3 separate regions of the Homo sapiens genome follow, and regions 2 and 3 are each linked to region 1. Evidence: promoter capture Hi-C in human tissues and cell types (Jung and others, 2019). All regions are on one chromosome and are shown on one strand. Each heading gives the region's core, a stretch centred on a gene start or on the middle of the fragment in contact. The rest is flanking DNA. Distances are from core to core; before and after follow the strand shown. Region 1 holds the start of TRIM41 (tripartite motif containing 41). Region 2 has its middle 9.9 kb from the start of OR2Y1. Region 3 has its middle 8.4 kb from the start of HEIH.

The links. The method cuts DNA at HindIII sites, captures the fragments that hold promoters and counts their contacts. A contact is called where the count stands out against the background at its distance.
Region 2: a fragment that was not itself captured here is called in contact with the fragment with the promoter of TRIM41 in region 1 in 1 of the 25 tissues and cell types used here (lymphoblastoid cells).
Region 3: a contact is called between a fragment that was not itself captured here and the fragment with the promoter of TRIM41 in region 1, in 2 of the 25 tissues and cell types used here (dorsolateral prefrontal cortex and lymphoblastoid cells).

Annotation. Positions count from the first base shown.
Region 1 is chr5:181,220,580-181,225,317 of GRCh38, reverse strand. TRIM41 (tripartite motif containing 41) reads right to left here and starts at 2,037. Exons shown (of 6, transcript NM_033549.5): 1 at 506-2,037. The coding sequence starts at 1,318. It overlaps TRK-CTT2-3 (tRNA-Lys (anticodon CTT) 2-3), which reads left to right and starts at 3,267; the gene lies at 3,267-3,339. TRV-CAC1-5 (tRNA-Val (anticodon CAC) 1-5) reads left to right here and starts at 2,851; the gene lies at 2,851-2,923. It overlaps MIR4638 (microRNA 4638), which reads left to right and starts at 2,685; the gene lies at 2,685-2,752. RefSeq lists enhancers at 144-1,141, 1,809-2,038 and silencers at 1,289-1,498, 2,769-2,998, 3,249-3,458. The HindIII fragment of the contact is 24,392 bases long and covers 1-4,738 here.
Region 2 is chr5:180,747,604-180,752,341 of GRCh38, reverse strand. No RefSeq gene overlaps it. Among named protein-coding and RNA genes, the nearest start is that of OR2Y1, 9.9 kb to the right of the region's middle. The HindIII fragment of the contact is 4,608 bases long and covers 279-4,738 here.
Region 3 is chr5:180,837,606-180,842,343 of GRCh38, reverse strand. It overlaps a transcript of ZFP62 not described here. Among named protein-coding and RNA genes, the nearest start is that of HEIH, 8.4 kb to the right of the region's middle. The HindIII fragment of the contact is 7,340 bases long and covers 1-4,738 here.

The DNA.
Region 1 (4,738 bases), core at 788-3,287:
GAGCCAACCAAAGTCCTTGAAGACAGAACCAAGCCATATCGTGGTAGGTGGGGAACCCACTGGGAGGCAAGTGCAGAGCATTTGGGTCTGACACTGACACTAGCAGTTATCTCTGTGTTCCTGCTTCTGAGCCTTTTCTTGTCCTTTGAAGCCCCCAGTTCTTTCCATCTCTAGGTGTCTCCGTCAAGGACAGACTTAAGACTCACCCGAAAGAAAACGAGACTTCTGGTAAAGCCCTAGAGACCTGATCTGGCATCACCGGCTTTGCTCTATTTGCTTTGAGGAAGCCATCCTTCCCTGGTCGTCTTCACTGCATCTGCTCTGTGTACAGAATCCTTCTCATTCTAATCCACCTTGGTGGCAGTAAGTGCTTAGATAAGCAAACTTGGCTCACCAATACCATGAGGTTCTTTGGTGGGTGAAGAGATGTTTCCTTTTCCCAGGTCCCCTTACTTCCTCTCCATCCCCCCACTAAACTCCCATCTTCTCTCTGTACTTCTCTCACCTTGTACTCCTGCACCACCTCCTCCAATGGCACCACGCTGTGCTGTTTGTGGCTCCTGGATTCTCGGCACACCACACAGATGGCCTCTTCGTCTACCTCGCAGAAGAGCTTCAGGGCTTCTTGGTGTTTGGGACAGATGCCCTGATCGGTCACGCGGCTCCCTCGACCAGGGGTTGGGTGCATCTGCCGAATCACCTGGACCATATTGGCCAGCTGCAGGTTGGGGCGGAAGCTCCGCCGAGGAAAGCTCTTTCGGCACTGAGGGCATGTGAAGCACCTCCGAGGGGCTGGAGGCGGGGGCAGTGGGGTGACGGGGTCTAGATCCTCTTCCTCAACCTCCTCCAGCACTTCCTCCTCGTCCTCCTCATCCTCCCCCCTCAGGTCCTCCTCCTCCATGTCCCCCAAGTAGTAGTCCAGGTCTTCCTCCTCGTCCTCCTCCTCCCACACATAGTCCATGTTGTCCCAGCTGGACCTGCTCATGCCACTGGTCCAGAACACACCCTCTTCTTCCTCCTCGACCTCCTCCTCCATGTCACCCTCGTAGTCTTCATCCCGCATGGGGGTGTCCCACCCCGCGCCAGCCCCCACAGCCTCCACTTCCTCCTCCTCTCCGTCCTCCTCCTCCTCCTCCCGATCTAACTCATCTCTGTCCTCCTCATCCTCCCCACCCCACAACTGGGTTACACAAACTCGGCAGAAGTTGTGCCCGCAGCCGATGGACACGGGGTCCGTGAAGTAATCGAGGCAGATGGCGCACACCGCCTCCTCCTGAAGGGTCTGCACAGGGTTGGGTGTCATGGCAACGGCAGCCATCTTAGTGTCCAGCCAGCCAGTGTAGAGGTTCGGTGGGGGGGCGAGGGGCGGGGGTCTTCCCTACCGACGCCCTGGCGACCCGGCTCCACCCCCAGCCCTGCCCCTCCACACCTCGCCCCAAGAGCAGCCAGAGAGATGTCCTGCCGACAACCCACCCCAACACAGTGTTCCCTACTCCCAAACGACAACCGTGTCTCTACGAGGGGAGGGGACAGTGCTGGGCGCCACCGCCAAGTCCCTCAGGTGGCTCTGAGTACAAGTCTGCCCCAATGCTCCCTTGGACTCCTCATAAACCCCCGCCCCTCCTCACTTCCTGGCCCCGCCCCTAGCTTCCGGCCTCCTTCCCAACACTTCCGGCGTCTACACACCACCTAAGCTCGCGACTTCCCTCCGCTGTCCTGCTACTCCCCCTTTTTCCCCGCGGGGCCCCAGGGCGACAGGAAATGGCGAGGAGACGCTCTAGTCCGCACTAGAGAACAGGGCGGGAGGGCTAGGACGGTGGAGGCCCGCGTCTCTGTGGTAAGAGGCCGCGGGGAACGCAGAAAGAACAGAGGAACCGCCTACCCCCATCCCCCGCCGCTGGGGAGAAACTTCGGGGGGTAGGGGGAGCGCCTGGCGGCCGTCTGCTTTCGGTGCTATCACCGCATCGGCCAGACGCCATCCTACCCTCCCGGCACAGCCGACTGCAGCCGGTACTCCCCACAGCCGATGCCGGAAGCGAGGGGGTGGGTCCGCGGCGCGCCCTGAAGTACTTCCGGCCCTTCTAGGCAGACGACTTCGTTGTGGAGGACTCAGAGGGTCGTCCGGGTCGGACCGGGGGCGGGGCCTGAGAAAGCGCTTCGCGGGTTAGGGCAGCAGACGCCCCACCCTTCCCCAACTGTAGTCGGCGTTTCGCATCCGAGGTAGAAACTGCCAACCGGACACTGTCTCATGGTTTAGATGAACTTCCCTAACTGCCCAGCAGTGAAGAAGTGGTGACGAATCATTACATCTACATTCTCACAGCATCTCTGCAAAAATAGATGCTTTGTGCGGTAGAAATAATACTTGATGCTTAAATAGCTCTTTAAATTTTATTTTTATAGAGATTTGATGTCGATACATAAATAAATAAATGTTGTTTGATGCGAGAAAAATGACGGGGCCATGATTTATGTACAGAATCTCCAGTGAGTGCCAGACACAGCGTGACGCCAGGGCTGGGCCTGCAGAACTTACCCTGCTCTCAAGGCGGCTCGCGGGAAAACTCCAGATGGACGTCGCGCTTCCTAGGGGGGTGGTCAGGCCTCTGAGTATGTCAGATCAAACGCGCCAAAAACCACGAACCCTCGTGGGTGAACTATGCTAGGCCATTACAGGACCTGCGGACTCGGCTGCGGTGGACAAGTCCGGCTCCAGAACCTGGACACCGCTCAGCCGGCCGCGGCAGGGGTCCCCGGGCCTGTCCTACAAGGGCGCTTGCCTAGAGCTATCCCGGCCGTCTCAGCCGTGTGTGTCTTCAGGACGATGCCGGCAGGAAAGTAGCCAAGGTGGTTTCCGTAGTGTAGTGGTTATCACGTTCGCCTCACACGCGAAAGGTCCCCGGTTCGAAACCGGGCGGAAACACGTTTTGGTCTGTTCGGGAGATTCTCTCCCGAGGCCGGCCTTACGTGGCAGGAAGGACATGTGTGTCCCTGCGCTTCGGAGGAACACGGACTGGGGCAAAACTGAAGGAGAGCACTACTCAAGTAAATTCAGGTCTCGCCCCTCACCTAATCTCTTGCTCTTCCCTTCTGAAGCCTATGCAGCCATCACATGTACAGGAATCCGTAGATTTCAGATCCTCGGCTCTAGTGCCTAGAACAGAGCCAGGCGCAGGCGCTTCTTAGTATTTGCACAGTGGAAACGTGCTTACACCTCTGAGGGTAACCTCCATCTTCAGAGACAAAGTTAGAATACAGACATGGCCGCCCGGCTAGCTCAGTCGGTAGAGCATGAGACTCTTAATCTCAGGGTCGTGGGTTCGAGCCCCACGTTGGGCGTAATTTCGCTTTTTGGAAAGGTTAAGGCAAGTTGTGTTACCTAAGTGCACAAATGGTATTCTCTGTACCAAGACCTAGTGGGTAGCAGATTCACCAACAGTGGGTGTTAGAACTTGGACTAACCTGGTGTTCTCCGATCCGTGTGTGGAAGGCCCCGAGCAGAATTCTCACAACGTTTGCACCCTCGCTAACTCTCAAAGAAAGAATGAGAGGCGGGTACCTGTGGACCAATTCCTGCAGGCCAGCACCGCGGGCTATCGTGCATGCATGACCCTTTGCTGTAGGCCACTCGCCCACGGGCAGCACATATTAGGCATTTTATGTTTACCAGACGGCCTGCCCCCGTCTTGCTGTGAGACTTGCTGTGCTGGAGGGAACAATGTGGTTTATCGAAACTGGGGTGAGACCGCAGGACGACCCCAGGCGTTCGTGAGCGTCAAAACCTATCTGATTCACTCCCACTTTACTGGGAGATTTAGTGGTTAGGCTTCCGCCTTTGTCTCGCTACGACCTGCTTTCGACTCCCTGTCAAGAAAGATGCTTTGTGTCATATGAGACACTTGTCTTCCGTATATTCTTTTTTATGCTCTTGACTTTAAGAGTCTATTTTTGTGAGATGTTGCCCCACAAATACCAGCCTCCACGTTTCCCCCATACATAAATAGAGATAAAAACGGGCCATGCGCCGCGGTGGCTTATGCCTGTAATCCCAATACTTTGGGTAAGCCAAGGCGGGAGGATCGCTTGAGCCCAGGATGGCCTCGAAATTAGTCCTGCAAATATAGGCCTTTTTTCTTTTTTTCTTCTCTTTCTTTCTTTCTTTTTTTTTTTTTTTTTTTAAGATGGAGTCTTGCTCTGTTTCCAGGCTGAAGTGCAGTGGCACCACCTCGGCTCACTACGACCTCCGCCTCCCGGGTTCAAGTGATTCCCCTGCCTCAGCCTCCCGAATAGCTGAGACTACAGGCGCGCCACCACGCCCGGCTAATTTTTTGTATTTAGTAGAAACGGGGTTTCACCATGTTGGCAGGACGGTCTCGATCTCCTGACCTCGTGATCCTCCTGCCTCAGCCTCCCAAAGTGCTGGGATGACAGGCGTGAGCCACCGCGCCTGGCCCCGTTTTGTATTTTTAAGCTGTCGAAGTCTCCTCCGCATACGCACCACACCACGAGAGAAGTCTGTTGATCATAGAAAGCTGGCTTAATCTCGCTGAGCAAAAGATAGCATCGTCTTCTGTCTCAGACGTAAATCAAAGCGGGGACTTATGAGGGCTATATAGTCTGTGAGGGCGGTCTGGGCAGAAGTTGGTCAACGTTTGTAAATAGGCAGAGTCGCTAGTACAATCCTAGCACATGAGTTACTGGTGTTCAAAGCTGGTGTTCAAAGAGTTTTAAGTTTGAC
Region 2 (4,738 bases), core at 1,333-3,832, 470 kb after region 1:
TTATAGCTCATTTCTTTGCTATCTGCTATCTCATTTCTTGCATTGCCATCTACTTTTAGTAGAGTATGTGGGTTTTGCACTCAGAACAAAGGAATTTTGTTTTAATTATGGCTCGTCCACTCTGTTAATTTTTTGGTCATGGACAACTAATTAAATTTTTCTGTGGTTCTTAAAATATCCATAAGACTATCTGTTATCTATAAGAGATGAAAAGAAGTTGTGAAATCTGCTCAAGTTTCATCCCGGATATGGGAAAGGACAACTGCCATTGGTTTTAGAAGGACAGTGATAGAGAAAAATAAATTTGCCTTGATGATTGCAATATATGATCCATTTAATCAATGCCCTTGTTACCAGTATATTTTCAATCCAAGAGTTACAAAAAGTATAAAGGGTAATACAATATTGTTTTTCTAGTTAAAATCTTATTATGGAGGTTGAGGAAGAGTGGTCTATTGCTATTCAAAAGTGATTGTTGCAAAACAATGGGAATATACTTAACACTACCGAACTATATGCTTAAAAAGGACTAAGATAATAAATTTTATGGTACATATATTTTTACCACAATTAAAAATTAGAAACTCAGGCTGGGCATGGTGGCTCATGCCTGAGGATCATGCAGGAGGATCACTTGATCTCAGTAGTTGAGGCTGAGGCAGGAGAATGGCGGGAACCCGGGAGGCAGAGGTTGCAGTGAGCCAAGATTGCACCAATGCACTCCAGCCTGGGCAACAGAGCAAGACTCCATCTCAAAAAAAAAAAAAAAAAAAGAGAGAGAGAGATTTGAAGGGCTACTATGTGGAAGATGGAATTTAACTTTACTTGTGATTCCAAAGGTAAGAATAAACATGGACACATTGAAGCCTGTGAGAGACTGAATTTGGCTAAGTGTAAGGAAGAATGTACAAAGGTGAGGAAGTTGACCAGGGGACAGTGATCTCCCTTTCCCCAAGGCTTTCAACAGGAGCTGAGTGGCCATGCTTGGGTGCTGGTGCAGAGAAGTTCTGTGAATCAGGAAAGGACTTCAAAAGTTGCTTCCAAATCAAATATCCTATCCTGGATTGTCCAACCTTTCCCCCCTGCCCTCTTCTGAAGAACCCAGGGACGCACATCCCAATGCCTACAGGACAGGGGCGTAATGTGCAAATAGGGGCTGGCTTGGTGAAAAAAATGCATGTTCCTTCTAGGGGAGGGTCTACTGCTCAGTTCCCACTGATTTATTTATTTACTTATTTTTTCAAGACAAGGTCTTGCTGTGTCACCCAGGCTTGAGTGCTGTGATGCAATGATGGCTTATTGCAGCCACAACCTTCCAGGCTCAAGTGATCCTACCACCTCAGTCTCTCAAGTAGCTGGGACCAGAGGCATGTGCCACCACCCCTGGCTAATTTTTTATTTGAGACAGAGTCTCCCTATGTTGCCTAGTCTGGTCTTGACCTCCTGGGCTCAAGCCATCCTTGCATCTCAGCCTCCCAAAGTGCTAGGATTACAGGCATGAGCCGCCACGCCTGCCCTCATCCCACCACTGATTTTATTTGAAAGAATGTTGACATATATTTTGAACTTTCCGAAAAGATAAAAATTTAGATTTTCATGTGAATCCTACTGATGTTAACCTATCAGCAAAATTTTTGTAAAAAATCAACCACTATGTTGCCCAAATACCTTAACAGGTGGCAACCAATTTGTGAGCTCTGTATACCTAGTCAGATTATTTCTCTTTCCTGGTTCTTCTTCAGCTTTACAGAGCAGTGACATCATCTGTAGAAGATGGTAATCTTTTTTAGGTTTTAGAAGTGTATGGTTAGCCTCTTTGTTTTTATTAAAATATTTTATTTTATTTTCCTTGGAATTACAGCAATCAATATGTGCACACAAAACTCATACACAAATATTTCATAACAGCATTATTCATATGAAATAGGCAAAAGGTGTAAACAAACCAAATGATCATCAACAGATGAATGGATGAGAAAATGTGGCATATTCACACAAAGGAACATTAGCCATAAAAAAGGATGATAAATGATCCATGCTACTACATTGATGAAGCTTCATTATTAAGGGAAACCAGCTGGACACAAAAGACCACATGTTGTAAGAGTCCGTATATGAAATGTCTAGAAAGGCAAGTCTATCAAGACAAAAAATATATTTCTGCTTGCCTGGAGTTGAGGGTGAGAATGAGGAGTGATTGCAAACTGGCATGAATTATTTTGGGGGGTAATGGAAATATTCTAAAATAATGGATGCACAAATCTATGAATATATTAAAAGCTATTGAGTTGTACATATTAAGTGTGTGAATTGTATGATATGTGAATTATACCTCAATAAATCTCTTAAAATAAATATATGCTAATTACAACAAATGAAACCCTGTTGTTGTATGAAGAAAAAGTTATCAGTCTTCCCACCTCCTTCCCATATTCAACACCCCTCAACCAATAAGCAGCATTACCATAATCAGTTTGAGGTGAACCTTTCCATCCTTTTCTTTATGCTTGTATAACCACACATATGCACCTATGTTTGTGTTCCAGTAACACTAACTAGCATTGAGTGAATGTCTACCATATGCCAAGCACTTTATATACACTGTGTCATTAATCTGCAAAAGAGAACCACAGGATAAGCCATAATAATATCATCTTACTGAAGGGAAACTAAGGTGCAAGCATATCAAGAAAGCTCTTCAAGGTCACAAAGCTAGTAATGGCACAGCTATTTCTTCTATATTATATTATGACCCCTTAAGTGGATACAAATCATCTTAAATGTTTCTTGTTTTATTTCCTGTGGTATGTAGAACAGCACTCATTGCTCAGTAGATAATTTTTGAATGAATTGATAAATAAATGCATTTTCCTTTTAAATTTATTGTGAATAAAAAACAGAGTATAAAGAAATAAATGTTAATACATGAAGTATACTATGTTTGAAAGCAATGTAAAGCATCAAACTTGTCTTCAAGGAAATTAATACTGAATTGAGTCAATGAGACACATAATGGGGATATATGGGCATTATATGAGGAGCTCAGGGAAGGGAGAGATTTGAGGTGGTGAATATGGTAAGCTCCAAGAGAGATGAGTCATTTAGTCTGAGTGGTGAAGGACTGGTAGGATTTGGGTGAAAGCAGAAGTGTGCAGAATCCCAGGATGCAGAGTCATATGCACCAAGGGAAGAGTTGGGTTCTGAGGACACTGAATAGATTCATTTGATTTAGGCAGAGCATGGGGAATAGAGAGAATTGAGGACTCAAGGCAAATCTTGGTTTTTCAGTCAGTTGATTTTGATTGCCACATTGGGGCCCGGAGGTCTCCAAGGTCATACTTGGTAAACAATTTTCCCCTGACTCCTCTTAAGGAGGCCTTGGCAATGCTCCTGAGGCAGGATTGCTGCTGAGCCTAAGGGTCAGGAGGTGGTTTGGTAAGACACCAGTTCCTCCACGGCTGAGTTGGTTAGGGTGAGTGAGCGAAGGTGCCTGGGGGAGGAGGCTCCTGCCTGGCGGGCAATGGGCCTTGGGCAGTTTTGCCCTGCCCAGGGAGGGAGCCTATGTAACCATCGCTTCTCCAGGACAGGAGCCCTGGGTAAGTACTGACTGGATGGGCCACTCTGACTTCATAGTTAAAAATCCAGAACCTCCTCCTTCACTCAGACAGAGGATGAAATTTTCTGGCTTGAATGTGGCTCTATTATAGTCAGACAATATCATTAAATTAGTAGACTGGCATGAAGAATATGAAGAATATAGTACTACATGCTGTTGAAAATAATTTAAACATGATTTCTGATTTCAATAAGTGTGTTATTTTTAGAAGTCATGCATAGAAATATTTCATTGGGCAATTAGTGGGGGATTCCTTTGTGTAGCATCCCCAGTTTGAGTACATAGAGCTATTAAATTCATGCAAGAACATATTTTATCACTGATAGAGTCTTTCTCTGCCACTTACTCACCCATCCATTCACTCAACTGAATACAGCATGTCAAACAATTTCTTTTTTTTCTCTCCAACTGCATAAACTTAGGGAAATAAGTTTATTTATGTAAAGTGTGAAGCTTAAAATCATTTTGAAGTTTCTTCTAAATCTCAAATTCCATGATGCCAGGGCTCTAGTATGCAAAGTAAATTATAGGCCTCAGTGCCAAGAGACAAAGAATAGAGCAATGGTCAGAGCTGTTGAAGATAAATCCCGGAAGACTTCTTGAAGAACTAGATGACAGAAGGGAATCTATCCTATTTGGAGACAATGTTCTGTGTGGGAATCAGAGTTAAAACAAGCTACTTGTTAATTCAGTCTTTGTTAATTAAGCTTACTGAACTCAAACCGGAGTTTTCTGGTCTTATACTGCGAAATGTGGGTTATTATTAAGTATTTTATAGAAGCGTCTTAAAGATCACCCTAAAGTCTCATGGGGTATGATGAGATATTGTGTGATTCCTCAGGTGAGAGGAACAGGGTCAGGTGTGTCTGCAGAAGAGGAGGATGTGATGGAGGATGAGTGGAAGGAAGGATGTTTTGGTGCCTAGTAAGTTTTGATAGTGGGTTTAATCTTCCAAAAACTAATAAGAGAGCTACTCATGCAGGTGTAATAAAAGGGTGAAATAAGATTCAAATTTAAGGATGAATGTTCTACCAATGAAGGTGTTTCGGAAGGAGTTTGTAGAACCTCCTCCTTCACTCAGACAGAGGATGAAATTTTCTGGCTTGAATGTGGCTCTATTAC
Region 3 (4,738 bases), core at 762-3,261, 380 kb after region 1:
TTTGGTAAATTCTCAGCCATTGTGTGCTCAGATATTAGCTCTATACCATTCTTTTTTCATTTCCTTCTAGGACTCCAAATAAAGCCTTCTCACTGTATCTCCTGTGCCTCTTAAGTGCTCGTTTCCATCCTTTTGTCCCCTACTCCTTACCCAGGCTTCATTCTGGATCTAATTTACCTTCCAGTTCACTAAGTTTCTCTTTAGCTATGTAATCTGGCTTAAATATACCCATTGAGTGCTCAATTTAAGTTTTTCTGTTTCTCAGTAATAGACTTTTCATTTGCTTCCTTTTTTCTGGAGACGGAGTATCACTCTGTCGCCCAAGGTTGGAGTACAGTGGCAAAATCTGGGCTCACAGCAACCTCTGCCTTCCAGGTTCAAGCAATTCTTACGCCTCCCATGTAACTGGGATTACAGGTGTGCACCACCATGCCTGGCTAATTTTTGTATTTTTAGTAGAGAGGGGTTGTGCTGTGTTGCCAGGCTGGTCTCAAACTCCTGACCTCAAGTGATCTGCCCACCCCAGCTTCCCAAAGCTCTAGGATTACAGGCATGAGCCACAGCACTGGACCTTCTTCCTTTTTCATAGTATGCCAGATTCTCAAATGTAGCTTTATTTTCCTTGAACATAGTAGCATTTTTAGTTTAAAAGCTGTGTCTGATAGCATCTGTGGCAGTGCTTTCTCTGATGTTGACTCTGAGTGTGTCACCTATTCTCTGCATTAGATTTCTTCCATCTGAACACTTGAGTGGTTTCTGATTTTCAGGTTAGAATCTGACTGATAGACTGCTGTCTGCATGCTCTTAATCTGGGCCTTACAATTTTCTACAGAATCCTTTCACAGCCCACAGCCCACAGCCCCTCTTTGTATTTTGTTAACTTTCAGTAAAAGGGAACTTGGTTCAAGAACTGTAAAAGTTGTTGTCTGAACCCAAAATTCTAAAGGGAATCCAAACTGGGAAAGAAAAAATCCTCGCCTCAAGTTCCTAGCCTTAGTAAAAAGTATATATATATATATATATGTGTGTATGTATATATATATGTGTATGTATATATATGTATGTATATATATATGTGTGTGTGTGTGTGTATATATATATGGATATAGCACACTGCCATGCTTTCCATTTTGTTTCAGTTGGTCTCTTATCCAGCAAGTTCATTTTCTTTCCACAAAACAATATCTGGGATACAAGAGGTTAGCTATTTGCTAATAGTTAAGACGTTTTGGGGTCATTTCAATTCAGTATTTTTAATGTTTCATTCAGAAGTCATTTGAATAACTAAGAAGTTATTTCTTAGACCCTGTCCTCAGAATACACCATTGCAACAAAAAACAAAAAAACCTCAGCACAAATCATGGAGTTCCTAGGTTCCAGCGTCCTTCTTTTTCTGGACGCTTTTTTCCTCTAAAAACAAAGATTGACTCAAGCATGTAACAACAGAAATACTGTGATAGCAATACTATGCTAACATTTTTATTTATTCCTGTGATCTTAACACCTTCCTCCCCAACCCCAACACACACACACACACACACACACACACACACAAATTGTTTTAGCTACTTCTATTTTTTTTTTGAGGCAGATTCTCGCTCTGTCGCCCAGGCTAGATAGAGTGCAGTGGCGGGATCTTGGCTCACTGCAACCTCCACCTCCAGGGTTCAAGCGATTCTCCTGCCTTAGCCTCCTGAGTAGCTGGGATTACAGGCGCCCACCACATGCCCGGCTCATTTTTGTATTTTTAGTAGAGATGGGGTTTCACTGTGTTGGCCAGGCTTGTCTCGAACTCCTGACCTTATGATCCACCTGCCTCAGCCTCCCAAAGTGCTGGGATTACAGGCCTGAGCCACCATGCCCAGCCATTTTAGCTGCTTCTATGGGAAGAGTTACGTTTCCCAGTTTGATTCTCATCTCTACCCACACCTAGAATCCTGCAAGTTATCTAGTTTATCTTGTCTGGAAACTGGCTGATTGACATCCAGTGGGGCTTTGAGGGGCATCTTCAAAGCCTTCCCCATCCCCAGCTCCTCAACTCCCTCTGAAGCTGACTGCCCCTTTTCACGGCCAGTGCATTTAGGAGAAGCCAGGGATCTGCCCCTGAACATAACTAGGCCTTGGCTAAGACCACTGTCCACTGTGCCCAAGCAGTCAGGCACATGGGACAGTGGACAAACACCATGGCTAGAACATCTTCATGGAACACGCCCTCATGATGCAATGGCCTTGTGGCACTTACTGTGGAGGCCTCCACCTGGGGATCCTCAGCTCGCCTCTCTGGCCTTCCTGACATTCTTTCTTTAGGCAGTCCCACAACTAGTATGTTAGGTGGGCTGGGGGCTGGTGGAAAGGGACCACAAGCATATACCCATTGTAAGGTTAGTTCTTCATTAATTAACCAGGGATTCAAAATCTTACCAGAAGCAAAATGGTGGGTGGGGCAGAGAAAAAACAAATTCAGCACATCACTGTGAAGCTGTCCTTGGCGCTGGGAGTTCTTAAGGGGGTAGGAGGCAAGCAGATCTGGAACACTTATTTCCTGTCAGGACACAACCATTTTATTTTTTATTTATTGTAACTTTTAGGTTCAGGAGTACATGTGCAGGTTTGTTATGTAGGTAAACTGTGTCACAGGGATTTGGTGTTCAAATTGTTTCATCACCCAGGTAATAAGCATAGTACCCAATAGGAATTTTTTCTGATACTCTTCCTCCTCCTGCCCTTCACCCTCAAGTAGGCCTCAGTGTCTGTTTTTCCCCTCTTTGTATCCATGTGTTCTCATTGTTTAGCTCCCACTTGTAAGTGAAAACATGCGGTATTTGGTTTTTCCGTTGCAGCATTAGTTCTCTTAGGATAATGGCCTCCAGCTCCACTCATGTTGCTGCAAAGGATGTGATCTCCTTTTTTATGGCTGCATAGTATTCCATGAACACAACCATTTTAAACTAAGGGATTAGGTGACTGTTATGAAAGAAACTAAGTAATTTGTGCTTTAAGGAATTCATACAAACAGGCTGTCATGGTTCCTGAACCAGCCTCAGTATCACCAGGGCAGCATGTGAGAGGAAGTTGAGGCAGTATCTTGGCACTGTTTTTAGCCACTGCTCTATACCAGGCCTTTATATGAGTGCTTTTGCTTCTAAACATACGCTTTTGGTTTTTAACAAAAGGAACCTGACTGTATATACATGATATTGGCACATTTGCATTTAGACAGTAGCTCACCTTTCTGTAAAAGTCCACATACATCTTTCTGCATTCTTTCTAAGGGTTTCCTAGTACACTCATTGTATAGTTATACCATACTTTACTTAACCCCCTCATGATAAATGTTTTGGTGGTTTCCAGTTTTTGTTAGTATCAACAGTGTTGCAGTAAAATACATTTTTCTCTCCTGTATGTTATCCTACAAATACATTTCTAAAGGCAGAATTGCTGAGTTAAGATTTGCTTTTAAATTTTTGCTACATACTGGAAAATTGCTCTCCAAAAATATTGTAACAATTTATACTTTTGACAATAGTGTATGAAACTTTGTTTCTCCACACCTTCACAAACACTAGGTATTATCAACATTTTTCACCTTTTACCAAACTGATGGTTAACAAATGCTCTTTTTAAAAAAATTTTATTTTGAAACAATCTAAACTTGCCAAAGAAGTATAGTATAAAACTTTTTCCTTCCTGAACCATTTGAGAATAAGCTTCTGATATGATGCCCCATCACCTCAGAATACTTTTGAGTGTGTATTTCCTACAAGAACCTCCTACATCATCAGCATACAACCATGAAAATTAGGGACTCAACATCAATTCATTACTACTACCTAATGCTCAGACCCCGTGCAAGTTTCTTTCATTGTCCTAATGTCCTTTAGAGCAAAGATTTCAGTTTAGAATTGTGCATTGTGAGTGTTGCATCTTTTTAGTCTCCTTCAATCTAGAATGGTGCCTCAGCCCTTCCTCAACTTTCATGACTTTTCAAAATTGCCCTACTCACCTCACTTGGGCAGTGACACCCTCACTCCCTGCATGGTCCCCTCTTCACCTTGCTTGGGCACTGAGACCCATGCCAGGCCATGCTCCACCACCACATGGGCCTCCTTGACTCCCTCCTCACCCTGCTTGGGCTCCAACACCTAGCTTCAGGACAATGAAGTTCTGTCCCCCCACAACAGAATCCCATCTTGTTTGGTTTTGTGTAACGGGAGCTGAATTGTTAAGGAAGGGAAGGGAATTCTTTTTTTCATCTCTTAGTAGAAATTTAAGATTTCCTATACACAGGTCCAGTTAAGTTTATTCCTAGCTTCAATAAATGTTTAAAGGAGAGTCAACATCCTCAACAACTTTACATCAAGTGCATTGGCAAATGTAAGGTTTTTTTCTTGAGGGAAACTTTAACAGAGCCCAAGAACAGGACCTTGTACTTGAAGGTGCATCAGCTGAAACAGGAGGCTCGGAGGAGGGCGGCTGTCCCTTCTCGTGAACATCCCTTCAAGAGAAGCCAGACATTTGACAGAAATTGAAAAGGAGACTGTTGGAGATTATATTTCTTCTTGAGGGCCTGGATGCTGGTTTTCAGTTACGTAGTCTTCTCCCCAAGGCAAATTCATCCCAGAAGAGTCTTGTGGGGAAAATTCCAGTAAGTTGAACACTTAATTATCATAAATTTCAATGGGAGAAATTGTTATACATTCCAGAGCCTCCGAATTAACATACCTTTATGCCCAAATCC